7 separate regions of the Homo sapiens genome follow, and regions 1, 2, 3, 4, 5 and 7 are each linked to region 6. Evidence: promoter capture Hi-C in 16 types of primary human blood cells and fetal thymus (Javierre and others, 2016). All regions are on one chromosome and are shown on one strand. Each heading gives the region's core, a stretch centred on a gene start or on the middle of the fragment in contact. The rest is flanking DNA. Distances are from core to core; before and after follow the strand shown. Region 1 overlaps LEKR1 (leucine, glutamate and lysine rich 1). Region 2 overlaps LEKR1 (leucine, glutamate and lysine rich 1). Region 3 has its middle 32 kb from the start of LINC02029. Region 4 overlaps LEKR1 (leucine, glutamate and lysine rich 1). Region 5 overlaps LEKR1 (leucine, glutamate and lysine rich 1). Region 6 holds the start of SSR3 (signal sequence receptor subunit 3). Region 7 overlaps KCNAB1 (potassium voltage-gated channel subfamily A regulatory beta subunit 1).

Evidence for each region. The method cuts DNA at HindIII sites, captures the fragments that hold promoters and counts their contacts. A CHiCAGO score of 5 or more calls a contact.
Region 1: a contact is called between a fragment that was not itself captured here and the fragment with the promoter of SSR3 in region 6, in 1 of 17 cell types (total CD8 T cells). The highest score is 5.1, in total CD8 T cells.
Region 2: a fragment that was not itself captured here is called in contact with the fragment with the promoter of SSR3 in region 6 in 4 of 17 cell types (naive B cells, non-activated CD4 T cells, naive CD4 T cells and 1 more); the score reaches 6.4 in naive B cells.
Region 3: a contact is called between a fragment that was not itself captured here and the fragment with the promoter of SSR3 in region 6, in 8 of 17 cell types (total B cells, non-activated CD4 T cells, activated CD4 T cells and 5 more). The highest score is 8.4, in total B cells.
Region 4: a contact is called between a fragment that was not itself captured here and the fragment with the promoter of SSR3 in region 6, in 6 of 17 cell types (total B cells, naive B cells, non-activated CD4 T cells and 3 more). The highest score is 10.5, in total B cells.
Region 5: a contact is called between a fragment that was not itself captured here and the fragment with the promoter of SSR3 in region 6, in 4 of 17 cell types (total B cells, naive B cells, non-activated CD4 T cells and 1 more). The highest score is 8.0, in total B cells.
Region 7: a fragment that was not itself captured here is called in contact with the fragment with the promoter of SSR3 in region 6 in 6 of 17 cell types (naive CD8 T cells, naive CD4 T cells, total CD4 T cells and 3 more); the score reaches 11.1 in naive CD8 T cells.

Annotation. Positions count from the first base shown.
Region 1 is chr3:156,960,154-156,962,978 of GRCh38, reverse strand. All of the region lies in intron 6 of LEKR1 (leucine, glutamate and lysine rich 1), which reads right to left. Among named protein-coding and RNA genes, the nearest start is that of LINC02029, 120 kb to the left of the region's middle. The HindIII fragment of the contact is 4,848 bases long and covers 1-2,825 here.
Region 2 is chr3:156,996,461-156,999,251 of GRCh38, reverse strand. The region is part of intron 9 of LEKR1 (leucine, glutamate and lysine rich 1); the gene reads right to left. Among named protein-coding and RNA genes, the nearest start is that of LINC02029, 84 kb to the left of the region's middle. The HindIII fragment of the contact is 1,011 bases long and covers 903-1,913 here.
Region 3 is chr3:157,048,282-157,051,033 of GRCh38, reverse strand. No RefSeq gene overlaps it. Among named protein-coding and RNA genes, the nearest start is that of LINC02029, 32 kb to the left of the region's middle. The HindIII fragment of the contact is 2,644 bases long and covers 165-2,752 here.
Region 4 is chr3:156,978,643-156,981,653 of GRCh38, reverse strand. It overlaps LEKR1 (leucine, glutamate and lysine rich 1), which reads right to left. Exons shown (of 13, transcript NM_001004316.3): 7 at 2,379-2,460. Among named protein-coding and RNA genes, the nearest start is that of LINC02029, 100 kb to the left of the region's middle. RefSeq lists an enhancer at 2,880-3,009. The HindIII fragment of the contact is 1,264 bases long and covers 843-2,106 here.
Region 5 is chr3:157,026,615-157,029,761 of GRCh38, reverse strand. LEKR1 (leucine, glutamate and lysine rich 1) reads right to left here. Exons shown (of 13, transcript NM_001004316.3): 12 at 1,360-1,659. Among named protein-coding and RNA genes, the nearest start is that of LINC02029, 54 kb to the left of the region's middle. The HindIII fragment of the contact is 3,184 bases long and covers 1-2,857 here.
Region 6 is chr3:156,553,760-156,556,684 of GRCh38, reverse strand. SSR3 (signal sequence receptor subunit 3) reads left to right here and starts at 1,568. Exons shown (of 5, transcript NM_007107.5): 1 at 1,568-1,728; 2 at 2,904-2,925. The coding sequence starts at 1,596. RefSeq lists an enhancer at 1,630-1,709. The HindIII fragment of the contact is 5,682 bases long and covers 1-2,726 here.
Region 7 is chr3:156,142,263-156,145,457 of GRCh38, reverse strand. The region is part of intron 1 of KCNAB1 (potassium voltage-gated channel subfamily A regulatory beta subunit 1); the gene reads right to left. Among named protein-coding and RNA genes, the nearest start is that of KCNAB1, 23 kb to the right of the region's middle. The HindIII fragment of the contact is 8,066 bases long and covers 1-3,195 here.

The DNA of each region.
Region 1 (2,825 bases), core at 199-2,698, 410 kb before region 6:
GAATTTAAAAAATGAAGTCTAAAATTTATTCCCAAGGTCCTATGGTACAGTTAAAGAAAAGGCAAAGAGAGTGGTAGAGCTAAAGTCTAGCCTTAGAATAAGAAAATGATGTTGGAGGTAAAGAACAAGGAGAGAAGGTTGCAATGGCACAAATGAAAAATGACTAGAGAATGAACCAGAATTACAGCTATCTCAAAGGAGAGAAAGGAGTCTCAGATGAATGACAACCATTATAAGGAGTAGATGCCTATGATCATTATAGAAAATTCCTCTATGATTCAAACATTAATAAAATGGAGATGATACATAAAACAGTGGTAATCTTTAGATGAAAGTTCAATGTTGGGAGCAAATGAAAAGGCAAGAAAACAAAGATAATCTTAGACGACTCCAGTGATCAAAGATCACATGGCTTCCACAGGAGATCCCTTTATAAGACTCACATTTCAAATGGTGATCAGGTTCTAAAAAAGATTTCTTAGAATTTTAGTTAATACTGCCTGGCTTGCAATTTGTCTAGAGATCAGGCTAAACTTTTTGTCCATCTACTTTTGGACACAGAAGCAGCCCACAGTGGTTCATTATCAAGCTGGTCTCTTTTAAGGGCTGTTGGATTTAATACAACTAAAAATAATTACAAACTTCCTTGGTTTTCTGTTTGTAAAATCAGCACTTTCCCCTTTTATTTGAAGCCAAGGTCATATTATTCCAACTAAAGTCCAACAGTTCAAAAGGAATCATAAAGGCTGATCAAGTCACTACAGTGAGTGCTCTCTGAAAATCAGACCTTGCAGGTAAGGTCCTTGTGGATCTGTGTTCATAGATCTCTATCTGCCATACAGACGGATGACTCCTGAATTAAACATAGGCACTCTCTTCTTCAGTAACCTTTTCTAAGAGCAGGCAGACTACTGTTACAGCTAATCAGGGCTGACTAGAAAATAAACAAGTCGAGGTGAATACACCTTTGGGCAAAGAGAAATTAAAATGTATAGCTTTCTTCTGAAATTAAAGTAGTATTTAAAGAAATTTGAATGCTTGTATACTAAATATAATCATTTGGTTTGCTATCACATCAGGAAAGTTACTTTAAAATACATTTGAATATATAGTTCTTTAGATGATCTTACATTTTATCTTGCCTATTCTAATGTATTAAGGTAGGTAAGAAAAGCTACCATATTCCCAATTTACAGATGAAGTAACTGAGACATAGAAATTAATAACTTATTCAAAGGGCCTATACAAGGCCTAAACAGTACCAGAAAGCAGAACTGTTTGGATCCCAGCTCAGTATTTTTTCCAACTGAACCACATCACTCATTTTGTGACTTGAATCACAAGCACTAAACAAGCTACTAATTAAGGAATGCAGTACTTACATATGCTACAACATGGATGAAACTCACAAACATTATCCTAAGTGAAAGACGCCACACACAAAAGACCGCATATTGTATGGTTCTATTTGTATAAAATGTCCAGGATAGGTAAGTCTATAGAGATAGAAAGTAGGTTAAGGATTGTTGGAAAGGGGCAGGAGTGTAAGGGGAGTGGCTGTTGATGGCCACAAAGTTTCTTTTTGGTGTGAAAGAAATCTCCCAAAATTCGACTTTGCTGATGGTCACACAACTCTGCAAATATCCTAAAAACCACTGAATTGTACACTTAAAGTGGGTGAATTTTGTAATTTGTGAATTTTATCTCTGTAAAGCTGTTTTAAAAGATTCAATTAGGATGTTAAAATGTTATATGCAAAATCATTTTTTAAAGTATTTGTGTTATTTACTATACTGAACAGCTTACTAAAATTAAAAAGTCAAAAGTTTTTTCACTTGGAATAAATTTGAAAGTTGGTAAAATAAATTAAGGAAGGATATTAAAAATAAGCTGAATGCTGAAGTGACTTATTTGAACTCTGTCTTCCAATATTTGTGACTGCTGACAAAAAGTAAAGGACATTTTATTCTAGCAGGTGGAAGGAAAATCATTTAAGTAGACTGACTGTGGGTCACAATGACCTCTGAGAGGATTATATCAATTGAGATAAATTGTGCATTTTGGAAGTTATTAGTGTGAGCTAAACATAAAATTACAGAACTTAGGTAAATAAATCTTCAAAAGGAAACAAAAAATTTGGTCTTCAAATTTTTACTTCATATGTTGGCTTTTCTATGAAAAAATCAAATTTTGGCATTAAGAGTTAGGTTGCTATTGATAGCCCATTATTTACTCCTAAACCACTATTAAACTATATGCACCAGAATTAACACATGTATTTAAATTTTTGAGCATCTCTATTTCAAGACAGAAATAAAGGGAAAAAATGTGGGGAAAACAAAGTTAAAAGTTTTTCATGTAGAAAAGTAATGATCATAAAAACCGTATGCTTGGGCCAGGCATGGTGGCTCACGCCTGTAATCCCAGTACTTTGAGAGGCCTAGGAGGGCAGATCACCTGAAGTCAGGAGTTTGAGACCAGCCTGGCCAACATGGTGAAACCCCGTCTCTACTAAAAATACAAAAATTAGCCAGGCTTGGTGGCGCATGTCTGTAATCCCAGCTACTCCAGAGGCTGAGGCACGAGAATCACTTGAATCCAGGAGGTGGAGGTTGCAGTGAGCCGAGATCGCGCCACTGCACTCCAGTCTGGGCAACAGAGTGAGACTCCATCTCAAAACAAAACCAACCAACCAACCAAACAAAAATCATATACTTGAATCAAAGCTGAAACTTTTCAGTGGTGATTTACAAGGAAACAAGTAACAAAATGTGAAAAATATGAGCATTTATTTAACTTTGGAAACAAGAAAATGCCATCAGAGT
Region 2 (2,791 bases), core at 159-2,658, 440 kb before region 6:
TATTGTCTGTCTGTTCTCATGCTGCTATAAAGAACTGCCCGAGACTGGGTAATTTATAAAGGAAAGAGGTTTAATTGACTCACAGTTCCGCATTGCTTGGGAGGCCTCAGGAAACTTACAATCATGGAGTAAGGCAAAGGAGAAGCAGACACCTTCTTCACAGGGCGGCAGGATGGAGTGAGTGCCGGGCAAAGGGGGAAAAGCCCCTTATAAAACCATCAGATCTCGTGAGAACTCACTCACTATCACGAGAATGGCATGGGAGTAACTGCCCCCATGATTCAATCACCACCACTGGGTCCCTCCCATGACACGTGGGGATTATGGGAACTACAATTCAAGATGAAATTTGGGTGGGGACACAGCCAAACCATATCAGTGAGGGTTCATAGCTTTTGACTAAAAAGAAAAAGATGAAGGAGAGAGGAGAGGCCAAAAGAGAAGTTAATGTAATGCAGGTGAGGATGAGGGAAGTGGATAAAACCCTTCCCTGTAGCTTAAAAATTATGCTTTATGGGGAAATGGGGACAATTTAGTAAACTGCATTTAAGATACATAAGTATCTTAATACTTAATGCAGAGCCAAACAGATGCAGATGTATATTATTTATATCTCAGAATAATTTACACATAAGCAACTTGCACCTAACTTTAATTACGATTAAGCTTTTCCTCTAACAACATTCTTCATTGTTCCCATCATGTTATGGGCAAATTGATCACAATAAATCTCTTTCTGTATTTTTTCTTGGAGTTTACCAAGATAAAGATAATACAGCATCTAAGAATGCAAAGGGTATGAGAGCTATTATAAACAGTGTGTGTTCTGGCTGTATGGTTGTAGGCCACATGCTGGTGTAAGCGAATTTCTCCAAGTGCTATATGTAGGCAGTCTTCAAGCTTAAACACATATGTCCTTATAAAATATATTTGTACATTTGTTATAGAGAATTTAAGACATATTTTACTATAGAAATAGTTTTCCCTAAGGATGGAATTAGGTGCCCCTGTCAGCCAACAGGACACTTTTTAACCCACAATATGCCTGAAGGAGTGTTGCACATTCACAGTTCTGGGCAGAGTTCTGACCTTGGCCACCGAGACCTTGTGTCCCAGTAGGATGGGAGCTGAGGGCTGTCTTTACAAGAATTTTAAAAATGGCCACACTTTTCTCTGACATCATCCTTATGCCTTGCTGCATCCCTCTCCATCCATAAAGGAAACCCCTTTCACCAGTCCCAGTGTGTCCGTGACCAAGCTGGCCAGACTGTCTTTACCTGCAGAATCCCATGATTCGAGAAGACCTACTTCTTTTCCTTTCACTGAAGATTCTTCCCTACCTTTCACTTCCTCAGCTGAGTGTGGGGAAGATAGCAATGCCCAAATAAATAGATTTGTACTAATCAATGAACTATTTGCTAGTTACTAATTCCCTTATTTCTCCAAATTCAGAAGTTCTGCTAGTTTTTTTCTAGGGTCACCTCTGGCTTTTTACATCGTTTTCTTCTCTTCTGAAATACACAGCTTCTAAACTGCACAATTTGTGACCTCAGTAAGGGCTCTGCTCTCCTGAGGGGTCAGGGAGGAAGGCTGGTGTGTATCTGACACTGCTTGGATTTATGAAAGCACACAAAGTCAGTGGGAGTGAATGGGGCTCTGGCCTTTGGTGAGCACATCTGGTAGCCTGGTTGGTTGTAATACTTCCACAGCAGTGGTTTGGTACTTTGCCAAGTGGCAGATTCCTAGGCCCTACCCAGACCTACTGAACCAGAATCTCCTAGGGTATTATCAAGCATCTCTATATTAAAAGTGTTTCCTGAGCCCAGCTGCTTCTTTTGGAGGGATGTTCACACCTCCAACTGCTTAAGGAAATTTCTTATTTAAAAGTCCCATTGGTGCTTCAAATCAAAGCTTCAAGAGCAAACTTGCTAAGCTGAGACAGGGTCAGTTTACTGAAGGAAAAAAGTGGAAAGAGGAAAGTCAAGTTCAATTGTGAATTTTAAGGAATGTCTGCAATCAGGTGATCACAGGAGGGAAGGGGAAAGAACCAAAACAGAGCTAGAAAAGAGACCGAATAACAGGTTGCCCTGGAGCCAAAAGACCACCGTTTCAAGACAAGTTAGGACAGTAATGTCAAAAGCTTCTGAAGGCCATTTGTTCTTCAGAATATCTTTTTTTTTTTTTTTTAAATGAAGTTTTGCTCTTGTTGCCCAGGCTGGAGTGCAATGGTGCAGTCTCGGCTCACTGCAACCTCCGCCTCCCAGGTTCAGACGATTCTCCTGCCTCAGCCTCCCAAGTAGCTGGGATTACAGGCACCCGCCACCACACTCAGCTAATTTTTGTATTTTTAGAAGAGACGGGGTTTCACTATGTTGGCCAGGCTGTTCGCGAACCACTGACCTTAGATGATCCATCCACCTTGGCCTCCCAGAGTGCTGGAATCACAGGCATGAACCACCATGCCCGAATGAGAAGATCTTTTTAACCCTTAGGCTCACCATGGAGTAAGCCATGGCTATTTTACTACTACCCACTTGACATAGACACTTAACCCAACAGAAACTGACAGGGTGTAGGAGCTGGAGATCCTCATATTTCTCATATCTCTTAAGCTTCACTACCTATAAAATCCTTTATCAAAACAGTAAATGTCCTGACTTGCTCCCATTGCCAATACCTTCTCCGTCCAGCATCCAGAATGATTTTTCTACAGTGTCACTCTTCTGCTTAAATACCTTCAATGGTTTCTCTTCATTGCACTGAAAACAGCACCCAAACTCCCAAAGGCCTG
Region 3 (2,752 bases), core at 237-2,736, 490 kb before region 6:
ACAGGTTTGGACCAGGTGATGCATCAGGCCCTTCAGAACTATAAAATTATTAATTTTTAAGATAACTCTTATTTTTATGTTAGCTGCTGTCTTCTTTATTTTCCTTCATAAATGGTTATTGAAAATAAAAAGAAGTTTTATTGTGCTGTGTTACTCCCAAAGCTTCCCATTTAGTTGCACTTTGCATTCTTTAAGCCAAGATAGTTATTTCTTTTTAAGGTCAATTTCCAGTCTTTCTCCATAATTCTTAGGACATTTATTGAGATTAGTATTTTCCTTTAACTTTAAGGAGATTTTTAAAATGAATACAGAGACTGTGGGGTTATTTGTTGCCTATATAAAAATGTAGTTTCTATTATTTCACATGTTTCAGAGAAGCTGTAATATTCTTAGATAGGGGCTGATCCTTTAATTGGAGCCAGTCTCATAAAACGCACTCCTGCTAAGATGGCAATGGCTGGTAGTGGTATTAAATAGCATTTAACAGGGAACAAATCCTTTCCCTTCTCTGAATAGAATTTGAATCAGTTGCCTCTTGTTTATCCCCAATATCAATATCTTTACTCAGAATTTCATTAACTCTTGCCTGAACTACTGTATTAGTCCACCAACTAGTATCCCATCTCCAGCCTTTCCATCTCATAATTACTCCAATACACCCCTGCTAGAGCAATGCTTCCAAATTTCAACAATGCACACCATGTCACTTCTAGTTGAAAGCCTGCAGTGGGTCCTTATTCAACACCTTCATGCAATGAGGTCAACCTACTTTTTCAGGTTCCCACTACTTCCCTTCACCAAATGTCTTCTACATTTCCCATAAACAGAATTTGTGACTCTTTTTATACATTTCTTCTACCTAATATACCTTCTTCCATAAATCCTATCTATTCTTCAAGATCCATTGTAAATGCCAATTCTTGCTTAAAGTATTCCCTGATTCTTCTAGCAAAAAGGTGAATTCACATAACACCCTGCTGTCAATTCTCTTTTTACCCAATATCCTTTGCTGTATATTCTAATTTCTATATATGCTCTCTCCCTGCTCTCTACTGTATAATTCCTGGGAATCTGTATGATGCTTTAATTTTCTTTGTAGCTCTCACAGTACTTTTTCAGTTCCTCGTGTCTGTTGAAGAAATGAGTGAATGAATAATACAGATTCAGTATTAATCTATGGATCAAGATGTTCAGAAACTGCAGAAGTTTAAAATTATTTATTAATCTATTATTATTTTGGGCAAATTACTTAAGTAATTTTGCCCAAATTACTTAAGTAATTTTGCCCAAATTACTTAATTTTGGGCAAATTACTTACTGTGACTCAGTATTCTCACATAGTTTCTTATGGAGTAAGGGATGTTTAGTAAATTTTTTTTAACTAATGAATATAAAGCACTGTGCTATATAAATGTTGGAAGAGAGGGATATCTTTTGACTTACTAGATCATGGTAAATATTGTCATAGAAAAGTGTATCCCAGATTCATCTATTATGTTCTTAAGAAAATTCTATATGTAAAATTCAGAATATACAAAGATGATATAATTTATATTTAATATTCTAAAAATGCAACACAATAGTATTGGCTTCACAACGTGGTATTAAACAGGGTTAATATTTTCAAGCAGAAAAGTCAAATTCTTTCTCAAAATACCATTGATACCACCTTAGCAATGATACCATAATTGTCTGTCATGATTTGGGGGACCATTAAAGGTGTCCTTTGCAAGAGATGGTCTACATTATTTTCCTAAAACGTGAAAATAAAAAAGTTTAATAATCTATAGTCATGATAGCATTTGTGAATTTTGAACACATACCAAATTGATTTCCTGTGCTCCATAAGCCGCAACGCAATGGTTAAACATTTTCAGCTGTAGTGCGTTACCTCTTTTAGGATACTAGGTTGATCTATTAGTGCAATAGTGTAAGAGTCATAAGAATTTAAAAAGATAAAACTTGAGAAAGCTAGCTCCATAGTCAAATAAATTAGCAATAATTGATCTTAAATATGACAAAAACTTTCAGACTAACAGAACATTAAAATATCTTAGTCTTACATAATTTTGTGTTAATGTATCTTCCAGTCAATTCCCTTACCAGAAAATGTGACTTTTAAGTAGTTCTGACCAACTACAAATATAGTAATTTAATTCAATAAGACTTTTAAAAATCGTTTGAGAATTCTATGTTAACTTAGAAGAATTCTCCATCTTTGTCCATGAATACCAGTTTAAGAAGAAAACCAGAGGGTTATACTTCTCTAAGGAATATTTTCTTTGATATCTTTTCTCTTAACACCTGTAAATCCTTCCATGGCAAGTCATGGCAAACATCAATCCATGGAGAAATTAAAAGTATTAGACTAAATATCCATTATATGCATTTGGAGCCTTATTTTTTCATCCTACTCAATTACTTTCCTAAGATTCCTTATAACTGTCTCATGCCAGGAACTTATTTATCAGTGAGAAAATCAAGAAAAGTTTGAATGTGTTCCTAACCTGTAGGTTACCTACTATAACGCTATTTTTTTTGTTGTTAAAGATGTCTTTCTTTAAAGGCAACATAGCTTAGTCGTCGCCATTCAAATGGTCTAGGTTGAAATAAATGTTAATATGACATTTCTGTTTATTCATGGAATTACTTCTCTGATATATTTGTGGAGTATAATACAACCTCATTGCAGATCATGATTCTATTCTCAGAGTGATTATTTACCGAAGTACTAATAAGGCAAAAATGTAAT
Region 4 (3,011 bases), core at 225-2,724, 430 kb before region 6:
CCTAGCAGTAAAGGAGAGTAGATAGAGTATAGATGGAAGAGCTAGAGACAGGTAGCATAGAGAAAGGTCTCCAGCACTTGGAGCCATTTAAGTGGCTCTATCTTTCCTAATTCGCATTTCTAAAAATGGGCATCATCTCCATTTTTTAATTGTTAAGAAGGTCTTGTACGTGTAGGAAACATTAGTTTTATAAACTGATAAAACATCATCAGCATTTCTGCAATTATACAGTAACTTCCTACAGATAATTAGTTTGATGGACTTTAGTGGTGTATTTCTCCCTGCATCTCCAGTCTACCCTGACTCTCACCATTTCTCAGCACAAGTTATGTTAAAATTATAATAAACAAAAATACCACAAAGCATGTGTTAATATTAAATGGGCAGGCTCCATGCACAGTCATTCATTGCTTTACAACAGGGGTACATTCCAAGAAATGTGTCATTACGCAATTTTGTCATTGTGTGAACATCCTTGAGTGTACACAAACCAAGATGGAATAACCTACTACACACGTAGGCTATACGATATAGCCTATTGTTCCTAGGCTACAAACCTATACAGAATGCTAATGTATTGAATAGTGTAGGTAATTGTAACACAATGGTAAGTATTTGCATATCTAAACATATCTGACCATAGAAAAGGTACAGTAAATATACGGTATTATAATCTTATAGGACCATCTTTGTATACATGGTCTGTCACTGACCAAAATGTCATTATGCAGAACATGAATATACACAGAATTCTGTGCCAACTTATTCTGTAAAATATCAATTCATGTCACTACCAGTAAGTTTATTCCTTTTCTTCACTATGCTCATTTCTATGTTAAGCTTCTTTCCTAACTTTCTAAGACTCCACTATATATGCTAAGTCTTGGTATGCCCACAAATTCCCTCTTAGCTTAGTTGTGTGCTAACACCACCTCCCTATGCCTAGACTGTGCCCTCTTCACTCCAAGAAGCAATCATCACACAGTAGCTGGGGCCTGACTAGACTGCTTTCCACAAGAGATATCCACATGGCCAAACCCCTCCTTGATGTTATTAGAGGGACAGCAACAACGATTTTTTTTTTTCTAGCAACCATCACCTTGTTTCTTTTCATGATTTAAAACAATCTCCCAAAAAGTTACTTCCTGGGCCTAGGGGGTCTTCTAAGGACCCCCGTCCACCAATTCCTTCAACCCCAGCCATCTACACAGACACCTGAACTACTATACTTACTGTACTATTAACCACAGTGTTATAAAGTATGAATATTTTATTTTCCTTTTCAGAAACAAACTATTTTGTTACAAATAATCCAAGTATACATTAATTTGATAGGGTATTTTTGGTATTTGTTCCTTCTTGTGTTCAGTATTTTATTAAACACATTGATTTTAGGAGTAGTTCATGGTCAACACAAACATTTGGTTGCTAAGCATTCTAAATATTTATGTTTTTATGAGGTTCATCCTCCTAAAATATAGGAACTGAAAATCATATATATCATAAAGTAAAAGAATCTACTTACTTTTCAAAGATTATATACATACTATTTTAGTATTATAATTATAGATATACTATGTTTATGCTATAATTTTTGAAATTTCTGAAATAAAAGTAATTTTTACTTATTTATTCATTTTGAGACAGGGTCTCACTCTGTCGCCCAGGCTGGAGTGTAGTGGCATGATCATGGTTCACTGTAGCTTCAACTTTCTAGGCTTAGGTGATCTTCCCAGTTCAGCCTCCCGAGTAGCTGGGACTACAGGAGTGTGCCAACACGCATGGATAATTTTTGTATTTTTTTGTGGAGACAAAGTTTCTCCGTGTTGCCCAGGCTGAAAATTAATTTTTAAAAGAAATAGTGTTCTTGATTTTACATCATTTTCTTATCACGTGTTTTCCAATATTTCTTTCTCACTTATATCAAGCATAAGTACTTCAGCATTTCAAAGCTACTCAACTCTCTCTTTGAAGCTAAAATTAGTAATTTTGAGATACAAGTTCAATATTGTTTCTTGTGGAGAGATAATAAAGAAACAAAGATAAGAAAAAAGTTCAAAGACTATTTCACATTAAGTTACTGCATTTGAACTATCAGGGAAAGCTTTAATATATGGATAAGTAAGTTTCTTATTGAGAGAAAGAAATCCTCCATGTATTTAAAAATATTTACAGGTTCTTCAATATATAATCTAGGCCAGTAAAGTGGGCAAGAAAAGCAGCAGTAAACTATTACCCACACCAGTAAATCACTGCCAAAAGAATCACAGAGAACACACCAGGGTCTTTATAATTCTTGTCATTTCTTCCTAATTCTTGCCATTTTGTAACACATCTACAGAGCACTGTTATAAGTTGTTTAATATTCTCCATCTTACATAAGCATTTCTTTATAGTTGTCCATCTCTGTCACCGCCTTCTGAAGTTTTAATCCAAGTGCCTCTACTAGACATTGTAAATCTGAAATGACACAATGTATTTCATCTGATTAGTACATTTTAAGTGTCCAGATATTTTCATAGAGTAAACCATATTCTTTTGTTGCTAGTCAGCTCCTGAAGAATAAGGCAGCTGCTTATTCCACTTTGCCTGTATGTCCATATGCAACTTATCATTGCCTACTCAGCCCTCCCTATCCTAACACCCCACAGACTTAATGGGTTTTGACAGGCCCAATTTGTTGGCCTCTTTCTGCCCCCACCACCATGCTGATTTTCAAACAGCTAATAGGCTAAATTTTACTAATGTTTTCAAAGGAAATGTATGTAGCTGACAAACATAAGAATTTCTGATCACGTGTCTTGTTTCTAAAACACATGATTGCCTGAGCTCACTTTTGTGGTCTGGAACTGTGAAGCATGGCTGAGTCTTCCTGCTAGAACTAAAACAGACAAATCATGTTCCAGGCTCATAGTAAAGAACGTGTTAACTCTGGGTAGCATCTAAAAGGCATTTTAGTGACTTTCAAAACCAAGAGAATACAAGCAGGAAACTGGCTTCCATAGAGTCTT
Region 5 (3,147 bases), core at 16-2,515, 470 kb before region 6:
GAGGCAAATCAGCATCACTTCTCTCTTTCTCAGGGTTTCTCTAGCAGAGCTAAGTCCACGTGTGCTCTCCCTCCTTACTCCTGCCTGAACTAGGGGTGCGGCTTCCTTCATTGGGGGGACTGAGCTGCTGTGTAACAACAAGAGAACTTAATCATCTTTTTGTCTTAATTATAATACTAAAAGAAAATTGAGTCCCTGGAGATTATAACTGCTAAGTCTGTGGTCACTGTGAAATACAGAAGCAGAATAATAAGAACTGGGTTTCCCAAAAGAGGAAACATCATATCATAGAGATTCGAATTTGAATCTTGGCTCCACCAAACTGTCTGACCTTATGGAAATTATTCAACCTTCTTCAGTCTCTTCCTCATTTGTAACATGTAAATAATTTCTACTTATAGAGTTGTTTTAGGCATTATTCTTGATCTAGTATTCTATCTACTCCATATTTTATCTTATATTTATAACTTCTTTGTAATAGGTTCACTTCATAATTACATAATTACAATGATTATGTAAACTTTCTATTTTGGCTGATAATTTAAATATAGCAAGACCATGGCATATTTAATTGTTAATAATCGATATTGCTGTTAGCACTTTCCTTTTATGCCTTTACTGATGCCAAACCAACAAAGATATTACTTCTCACCAACATTCAGAATCTTCCTCCATTTACCTTTATTTGCTATACTGTCATCAAAGGGATCAAATATTGTAATGTGATATGATATTGATGATTAGAGAACAGATGAATTGTTTCAGTATTTCTAAACTGCTCAGTAGTTCAGACATAAGACTTTCAAAAATGTTTTCAAATCAAAATAGGTCTACTCCAGTTTGAATGAAAACCATCACTGAAATAATCATACATACATAAGAAAGAAAACCGACGCATGCATATTACCTTATAAGTTTACATTGATAGGAAGTAAAAACCTAAGGTAAAATTGTGTTTAAAAGACATAGTCTAATTTTTTTAAATGTATGCAGAAAGTTCTCTAAAAGTTTATTTGGCAACAATTTAACGTTAAAACAAATAAGACATAAACATATAAAGATTCCTACTCTTAGAGGCTTAAAATAGTTATTTGCAAGAAAGAACTAGGTGCTAAGGAAACTTTTAGAGATTATGTAGTTCACAGGAAAGCCAGGTCTGGAGAGGCTAAGTGACTGCCTAAAGTTAAGGACAGAGCACCAGGATGTGATTAAGGACAGAGCACCAGGATGTGATTTAGGTCAGACTAACATTCCAGGACTCTTTCCATGAAACTAAGCTGCCTTTCACGTTTTTGTTTGTTTGTTGAAAGAACATGTGCTCTTTGATTAATTGCAAAGTTACCACTATCTGCTTCCTACCTCTTCCTGGGACTGGTTAAATTGCTCTATCAGTTGTGTTTGAGCCAGCATTACTCTTTTCAGTTCATCCGACTTCTGTTCCATTTCCTTCCTCAAGTTTTCTGAAACTGAATCATTACTGTCAATTTCCTTCTTCAAGCGAGATTCAAATTCTGCAACCAAATTTTTAAGATTTTCAATTTCTTTTTCCTTTGAATTAGATTCTTCAGTGTACCGAATATGGGATTTGTGAAGTTTTTCTTTAAGAGTGGTCACTTCCTGCCTTAGATCTCTTGTAGCGCCTGTGATTAAGTCAGATATCTGTAAGATAAATCTCATATTAGCTTGTAGGCGATAGTTTCTAGGTAACCACAGAATTCTTATGGTTTTTAAGAGGTTTATTTTCATTAATCAGTGTACTCACTTGATCAGATGAAACCAAACCCATGATGTGCAGGCCTTCAAGATTTTCTTTTTAAAAGACTAAAACATTTATTTTTCTACTTAAAACAGTATCACATTAATCACTTGGGCACTTTTGGAAATATATAAATTTCTGTGACTATATTAAGCTACAAAGGATAGCACAAGTCTTTTTTTTTGAGACAGGGTCTTGCTCTGTTGCCAAGGCTGGAGCACAGTGGTGCAGTGGTGTAATCATGGCTCTCAGCAGCCTTGACCTCCTGCGCTCAAACGATCCTACCAATTCAGCCTCTCCAGTAGCTGGATCACAGACTCATGCCACCACCCCTGGCTAATTTTTTATTTTTTGTAGAGATGGTGTCTCTCTGTGTTACCATGGCTGGTCTTAAACTCCTGGGCTCAAGCAATCCTCCTGCCTCAGCCTCCCAAAGTGCTGGGATTACAGCTGTGAGCCACTGTGCCCAGCCTCAGCTCAAGTCTTGACAAGTAGATCAGGGGACTGTCTGGACCTAACTAGGTTGGCTTTGGGATCTCAAAATGCCTGATTTTGGGGGAATGCAAGGAGGAGAGCACTAGAGTTATACTTTACCCTAACTGTACCAATAAATTTTTCTTTAACATAATTTTTTTTTCTTTTTTGTATATAATGGCTGGAGGAACTCCAGATACTATGCCTTCCAGAACAGTACTGCCCAACAGAGCTTTCTGTGGTGTTAGAGATATTCTATGCTATCCAATATGGTAGTCACTAGCCACATGTGACTACTGACGGTGCTGGTAAATGTTTAACAACTGACTCTCAAATTTAAAAAAAAAAAAGCAAGATTTGTATGTAATTTCCATGGTGTAAATACTCTAACCATAGCTCTCAAAAAAGAGTATTGACTATTGAGCACCTGAAATATGACTAATGTGACCAAGGAACTGAATTTAAATTGTATTTAATTTTAATTAATTTAATGGAAACTTTTGCAGCCACATGTGGCTATCATGACGGACAGCACAGTTGTAGAAAACACTTGAATATTCTGAAAATGTATTGCTTCTCAAGGTGGTTCCTCTAGATAAATGAATGAGAGAATAACTTGGAGAAGCTTTTCCTGATGGCATGAAAGTCTTTAGAAGGGAAAAGTCCTCTTGTTTTCTTTCTCCTTAAGAAACAAAACAACGAAACAAGAGCTGCTTCTAATGAAACATATCTTTATTACTTATGCTCAATTATTGTCATGTTATAAATATTAGCACAACAAGAAACTAGCCCACTAAGAATCTGGAAAACATTCACAGACCAAGGTTCCAAGGACTTTGTGAACTGTTACATAAAAAGAGTTATGTATCCAAAATTTGTTTCAAATGTTAAATTTACAGAAAGAATAACTTGTGTGA
Region 6 (2,925 bases), core at 319-2,818:
CTTTTTATATCCTTAGTTTGTTTATAAATAGGCAGAAGAAAATCTAGTTATAGAGACAGATCCAAAAAGTTTTATTTATGAATTGGTCATAGATGGAGAAGGAAAAAAATAATTAGTGTTGAAACCCACTATTTTAACCAGAACAACAAATGAGTTTAAAAGAATGCAACTTAGTGAGATAGGAAAAACTGGGGGAGGAGTATGTGTAAGAGAAAATAATAATTTCTTCTTCTATCACTACCATGTAATAAAATAAAGAGCATTTTTAACATCAAAAAAGACATAAACCCAGATATTTTTAAATGAATACTTTTGATTTTCTGAAAAATTCACTAGATGGTCTTTTTTTCTTTTTCATTTTGTGGTGAATTAATGAAAACTTCTGGCATTAAGGAACACTTGCGGTAGATAATGGAAGGATTTATATTTCAGGAAAACTCACTCTGGTACCTGTATAGAGAATAGACTGGAAAAGATTGAAGACAAAAGCCCAATTAGGACTAGTAATAGGAAGCTGTGGAGGTAGATTACAATTTGGATACTGTGAGGAAGAAAGATATCTACCAAACGGTTAATAAGGAGGCTGGAGGTTGAGGAAATTGTGCCTAATGCACTAGAGTGTTCTCAGTAATCAAAAGTAGCATTTGCTGGGAGTGATGTGGTTGAATTTTTTTTTGAAGAAAAAATGATAATGTGTTGAGTTAAAAATGGAATCTAGCTGTTTTAATAGACATACTTAATCCTTCTGAGCTTCAGAGAGGGAGTCTTGCCTAGCCAACCTGTTCTTAGTATTATGTTTTATTTAGCATGGCTTTGGAAGCCACAAAACTCTATAGGTCTAGTTGAAATAAAATAAAATAGTAGTAACTTGTATCAGACATATATTAAATATTGCCTTCATCAATGAGATCATGAGTTTCTTAAAAGCAAGAGTCCCATTTTCTTCTTCCTACAGAGGTGGCCTATTGTTTAGTGAAAAGAGCCCACGCCTTGGAGACCCACACCGCAGGTCTACGACCCTCAGGCTCTTCAGCTGCAATGGCGGTAATGATGCGCACGTCATAAGATTCTTCAAGGTATTTAATGAAATAAAGGATGTGTAAAGGAGAAGGGATTTTACATGAGTTAGCTATACCTTTCTCTTCTTTCTTCTTCAACGTACTCAGTCCTGGGTACGCACAGAGGGCACTAATGGCGTGGGGCCAGAAGAGCTTTTAATTTTGGAATTCTGAAGAACTGAGAACTCGTGAGTCTGTCAGCAGCTCTGAAGTGGAATATCAATAAAGTTTTGTTAATTTTTTTTAAAGCACCGACTAAACTACAAATCCCTTCTCTCTCCTCCAGGTGGGTGGGTCACGTGGCTTGTCAGGAATCCGGAAGTCTGGCCCGCTCGCCCAATCACGCCCGGAAGCCTATCTAGTGGCGCCAAGCTGGCCAATCCTGGGGACGCTTGCTCTTCGCCAAACCGGGTCCCGCCTCCGCGCGCCGCGCTGACGGGTCGTTAGCGGATACGGCGGCCGCAGGGGCGGAGTCAAGGGCCTTTGCCCGCCTTGGCGGCCGGCTCTACGTTCCCTGTTCTCGCCTGCAGCTCCGCCATGGCTCCTAAAGGCAGCTCCAAACAGCAGTCTGAGGAGGACCTGCTCCTGCAGGATTTCAGCCGCAATCTCTCGGCCAAGTCCTCCGCGCTCTTCTTCGGAAACGCGTTCATCGTGTCTGCCATCCCCATCTGTGAGTGCTGGGAGCGAGGCGGGTTAGGCAGGCCGCCGGCTAGTCGGGCTGGGCGGGGACGTGGCAGGACCCGGCGAGCAGGGAAGGCGTGGGTGCCGGCCGGGGGTCGGCAATCTCTCCAGCTCCCCTGAGCTCGGGGAGGCACGGAGCCTCTTCTTTGGGCACAGTGTTGTCGCTTGGGATTGTCCTGTGCAGCACTCGGGGAGGTCACTTGTTAAAAGTACGCACGTTCCCGAGCTCCACCCCAGGAGAAGGTGGTTAACTAGTTCTGGGGTGGCGGCCCCGAATCTCTATTTAAACAGACAAACTCAAGCATACTGCCTCTGCCCTTTTCTATACAACTGTTGCTTGCCGTTACGAAATTTTAAACTTATTACTTATTTTGCATAAATTAGTTAGGTGAGAAACCCATGAAGTGACCCACTGAATTATAAGTGCATCTTTACGTGAGCTACTTCACACCATTGCATAATTTTCCTGGTTTTTGCAAAAAGAGAGAGGTTGAAGTGCCAGGGGTTAGGGATCTACCTTATTTATACTTTTTAATAATCCTACTGGACCAATTCTAGAATTCTCACTTGGTTGGGAAACTGCAGACTTGGACAAGGTCGTTTTTAGTAGAGCTCAAGTTTCCAGAACTCCTGTCTTTTGCTGCACTGTTGTTGGGCATTTAAAACTAAATGTATTTTTCTCTTTTGTCCTTATACAACCCAGCGTGCCATTAACGTGATGTGAAGCCATATGATGGCTCACTAATTGGACATAGCACTGCTTGGAGTTCTGATAACAGCCACGTCAGCAAGGAAACTATGGTTTGGGGCTGCACGTGGCATTTTGGAATGGCCTGTGTTTCGCATGCTAGTACCCTGATGAATGAAATTTGAAGTCTGACTTGTGATTACGTTGAGCCAGAGTTTGTTCTCATTTTAGAAGTTGAAATCTCATCTGGACTAGTAATAGGAAGGTGATGTTTTTCAAATGTTCTGAACTGGAAAGCTTGAGACTATACTGTTACTGGTTATCTCGCTTCTGAAGATCCTCAGATACTATTGGATTGCATAACTAATAACCTGGTATTTTACCAGGCTTAGCTATAATTAATTTCGCAGGCTTTTGTTGCGGGGTTGTAATGTTTTGCTTCTTTTTGTACCCTTCCCCCTTTTATTTTAATTCAGGGTTATACTGGCGAATATGGCA
Region 7 (3,195 bases), core at 354-2,853, 410 kb after region 6:
GAACCCTGGTTCTCTTTCCTAAAAATCCTTTCCAAATGGTTGCAGGAGAATGTCTTAAATAAGGGCAGTAAGCGAGTGTCTTAAAGGGAGAATAAACAGAGCACTAAGGACATTGGGGAGTGGGTAATGGAGAAATGTGTCAGGAAGATGTGTCAGAGCACAAGCTCATCATAATTTAGAGCCTTGGCTATTTCTTAGGGTTAATGATCAATTAAACTGTGCTTTTCTCCCCTCAAACTGATTTAGGGGCAACATTCTCCTAAGTCCCATTTCTTACTAGGGTGTGATATGGTAGCATACACCCTTGTCCAAGGCAGTATCTGGCATCTCCAAGGTAACAGAGCCTTCCCCACCAAGGCATCATGAAGAGTCGCCCAAAACCTATGGGGAGTATGGAATCCACATAGGTGTCTCAGAAGAGGCTGGGGGATGACTGCTCCCCTCAAGCAGGTGGGCTCCAAGCTCCCACCTTTAGCTGAGGCAGCTTTGCTTTCACCTGTCTGAAGAACGTGTTCCTCTACTTCATAATCCTTTGAAAAATGCTTTCCTAGAACATACCTTCATCTGAACATTGGCACACAGCACAGATCTGTAATTGATATTTAAACTAGACTTTTGAGAGAGAAAGGCATACCCTCTAAAGGTTTATGTAACAATTCATGGTAATACCACCCATCCTATGACAAAGACATGGAGGCAGACTTTTTTAAAAGTGAAATGGTCCATCTTCCCCTTCGCCCGATCTGTGTTCACATCACCATCACTACCACCACTGAGGGTCGAGGAAACACGGAGAAGAGAGAAAACGTGGGGGGACAGAGAAGCAGGCTCCTTCCGGTGACAGATTCAGAAAGAAACAGCAGCATCTCCTCCTCATCCATCCCTCCTCATTCCATGAGCTACCATGAAAAGGTGAGCTCCCCTTCTAAAGCAGGATGTGGTAGGCTGTCCTATCCTCCTTATAAATTGAGAAGAGTTCATTTCTTTTCTGCACAACCCTTTTATTACATAGAGTCTGTGTAAAATACTTTGCTCTCCAGAGAGGAGCCATATCATTGCAAATTGCTTTATGAATATAATTAGCTGATAAATTAGAGCAGCAGCTACTACACTGAAATAGACCTTCAGATTTTGGAAAAATGAAATCACTGGGGACATCTTGTACATGAAAAACAATCTTATGCTGTGCAGAAGTTTTGATATGAGCTAGGACAACTGTTCTTACAATTGCTAAATTGTTTTTTCAGTTTTCAGTACCTTGTCCTTCTGAATAGCTTTTACTCAGCTTCTGGGCTGTTTAAAACTCCAGGCGTACGTAAAGGAAGCACTTGTGCAGGAGCAATAATTGCTCTGAATAGGAAAGATTCTTCCCATCACAGAGCAACTTATAAAGATTACACATCCAACCCTATACCAAGAAAACATTTCTCCTTTTTGTTAATCTTTCATAAAATAAATAATGATATTGGAAGTTTAGTGTACAACCAGTAATTTATCTTGGGTGACACTGATTTAAAAAATAAATAAATAAATAAATAAATAAATAAATAAATAAAGTGCTGTCATTTCAAGGAGAACTTGAACTACTTTATTAGCTATTAGTACAGACCACATGATTCAAGTTTAGAAGAAAATAAGTCTTGAATCCCAGGCAGCATTAAAAAAAAAAATTCTACTCTTAACTTATAAATTCTCTTTCCCTTAAGAAGAATGGAGTCCCCACTCTTCATTTTGACCTGCCAAATCACCTCCCTACTCAGAGCCAAAGATACTTCTTCTGGAGCACATGGTTAGGAGTTTCCACAGATGAACTTGACTGTCTTTTCTGTAACCCTCTGAGAAAAGAGAACGCTTAAAGCTAAAAAAAAAAAAAAAAAAAAAAAAAAAACAAGAATGCAACCCAAGAAGAGGGCTCACTGCATTTTTCCTTCTTTTTCTTACAGGGTTTTGTCTTGCTATTTCAGTCCTTATTTCTTTAATAACAACCTTTGACATCAGTGCAGTGCCCTGGTTGGATGACTTTGCAATCAGCAGTACCTGTATGCCATGCCCGTCTCTGCTCTGGTGGTTTCCTGCAACGAAATTCCATGAACACGTAGAAACTTTTCCACATATTTCTGTTCGGCTGCTCCACTGGGCCTCACAGGTTTGCAGGCCGCCTGAGGCTGAGTCTTGGTCACTGCTAGGTGCCATCTACATTTTAGAGCCGATTCACTGGATTTTGGCAGACCCAGCTTGGGGCTCGGGATGTCTGCACAGGCAGGTTTATACAGATGCATGTTTCAAAAACCCAAGGAAGCAAAGCTAATTGCACGGTGCTTAACTTTAAGACTCACTGTATCTTGCTGTGAATACCTTGGGTTATCTGGCTTCAGTATGTCCCTCAAAAGGTTTAGCTTGTTTTCTTTAGATCTCTCTTATCATTTTTGTAGGCGAGCAGGCTCCTAAGTTCCCGACAGAGCTGTTGGTTGTGTGTCCCTGCCCAGGCCTGTGCATAAAGGAGGCTTTTGGTGGCCAATCACTTTTCTCATCCCTTTAAAGTACTCAGAGTCAAACATAAGCAACTATGTACTGGCCCTGGGGAAAAAAAATATGGGAACTTTTTCCCATGTCTTTCTATTTAGGTAAAAGGAAATATTTTGGTGGGATCTGGGCCAATCTGTTTTTATAAGGACCATAAAGCCTTAGGGATGATTCATGAGTATGTAATGAGACTTCTCTAAATTATTAAATATTTTGTAATCAAATAATTTTTTATACTAGAGGCATGATTCATTTGGGTGAAAGGTCCATTAACCTCTTTCAGATGTTGCTGTCAAATGATAGACAAATATCAACAAGTGGTTGTAAAAGGCAAAGGGTTCACACAAATATGGCTAATTATTTTTGACAAATATGAAGAGCAAATCTGTGGAGGAAGAATAGCTTTTCCATCAAATGGTGCTGGAGCAACTGGATATCCATAAGCGAGGCAAAGCAGAACAGCAACAAACAAAAATAAATGAACCATTGACCTAAACCTCATCTTTATACAAAAATCAACGCAAAATTGATCATGGATTTAAATGTAAAATGTAAAACTATAAACTTGTAGGTAAAAACAGGAGAAAATCCTCAGAACCTAGAGTTAAGTGAAGACTTATTAGACTTGACACCAAAAGCACAATCCATAAAAGGAAAAGCTCATAAATTAGA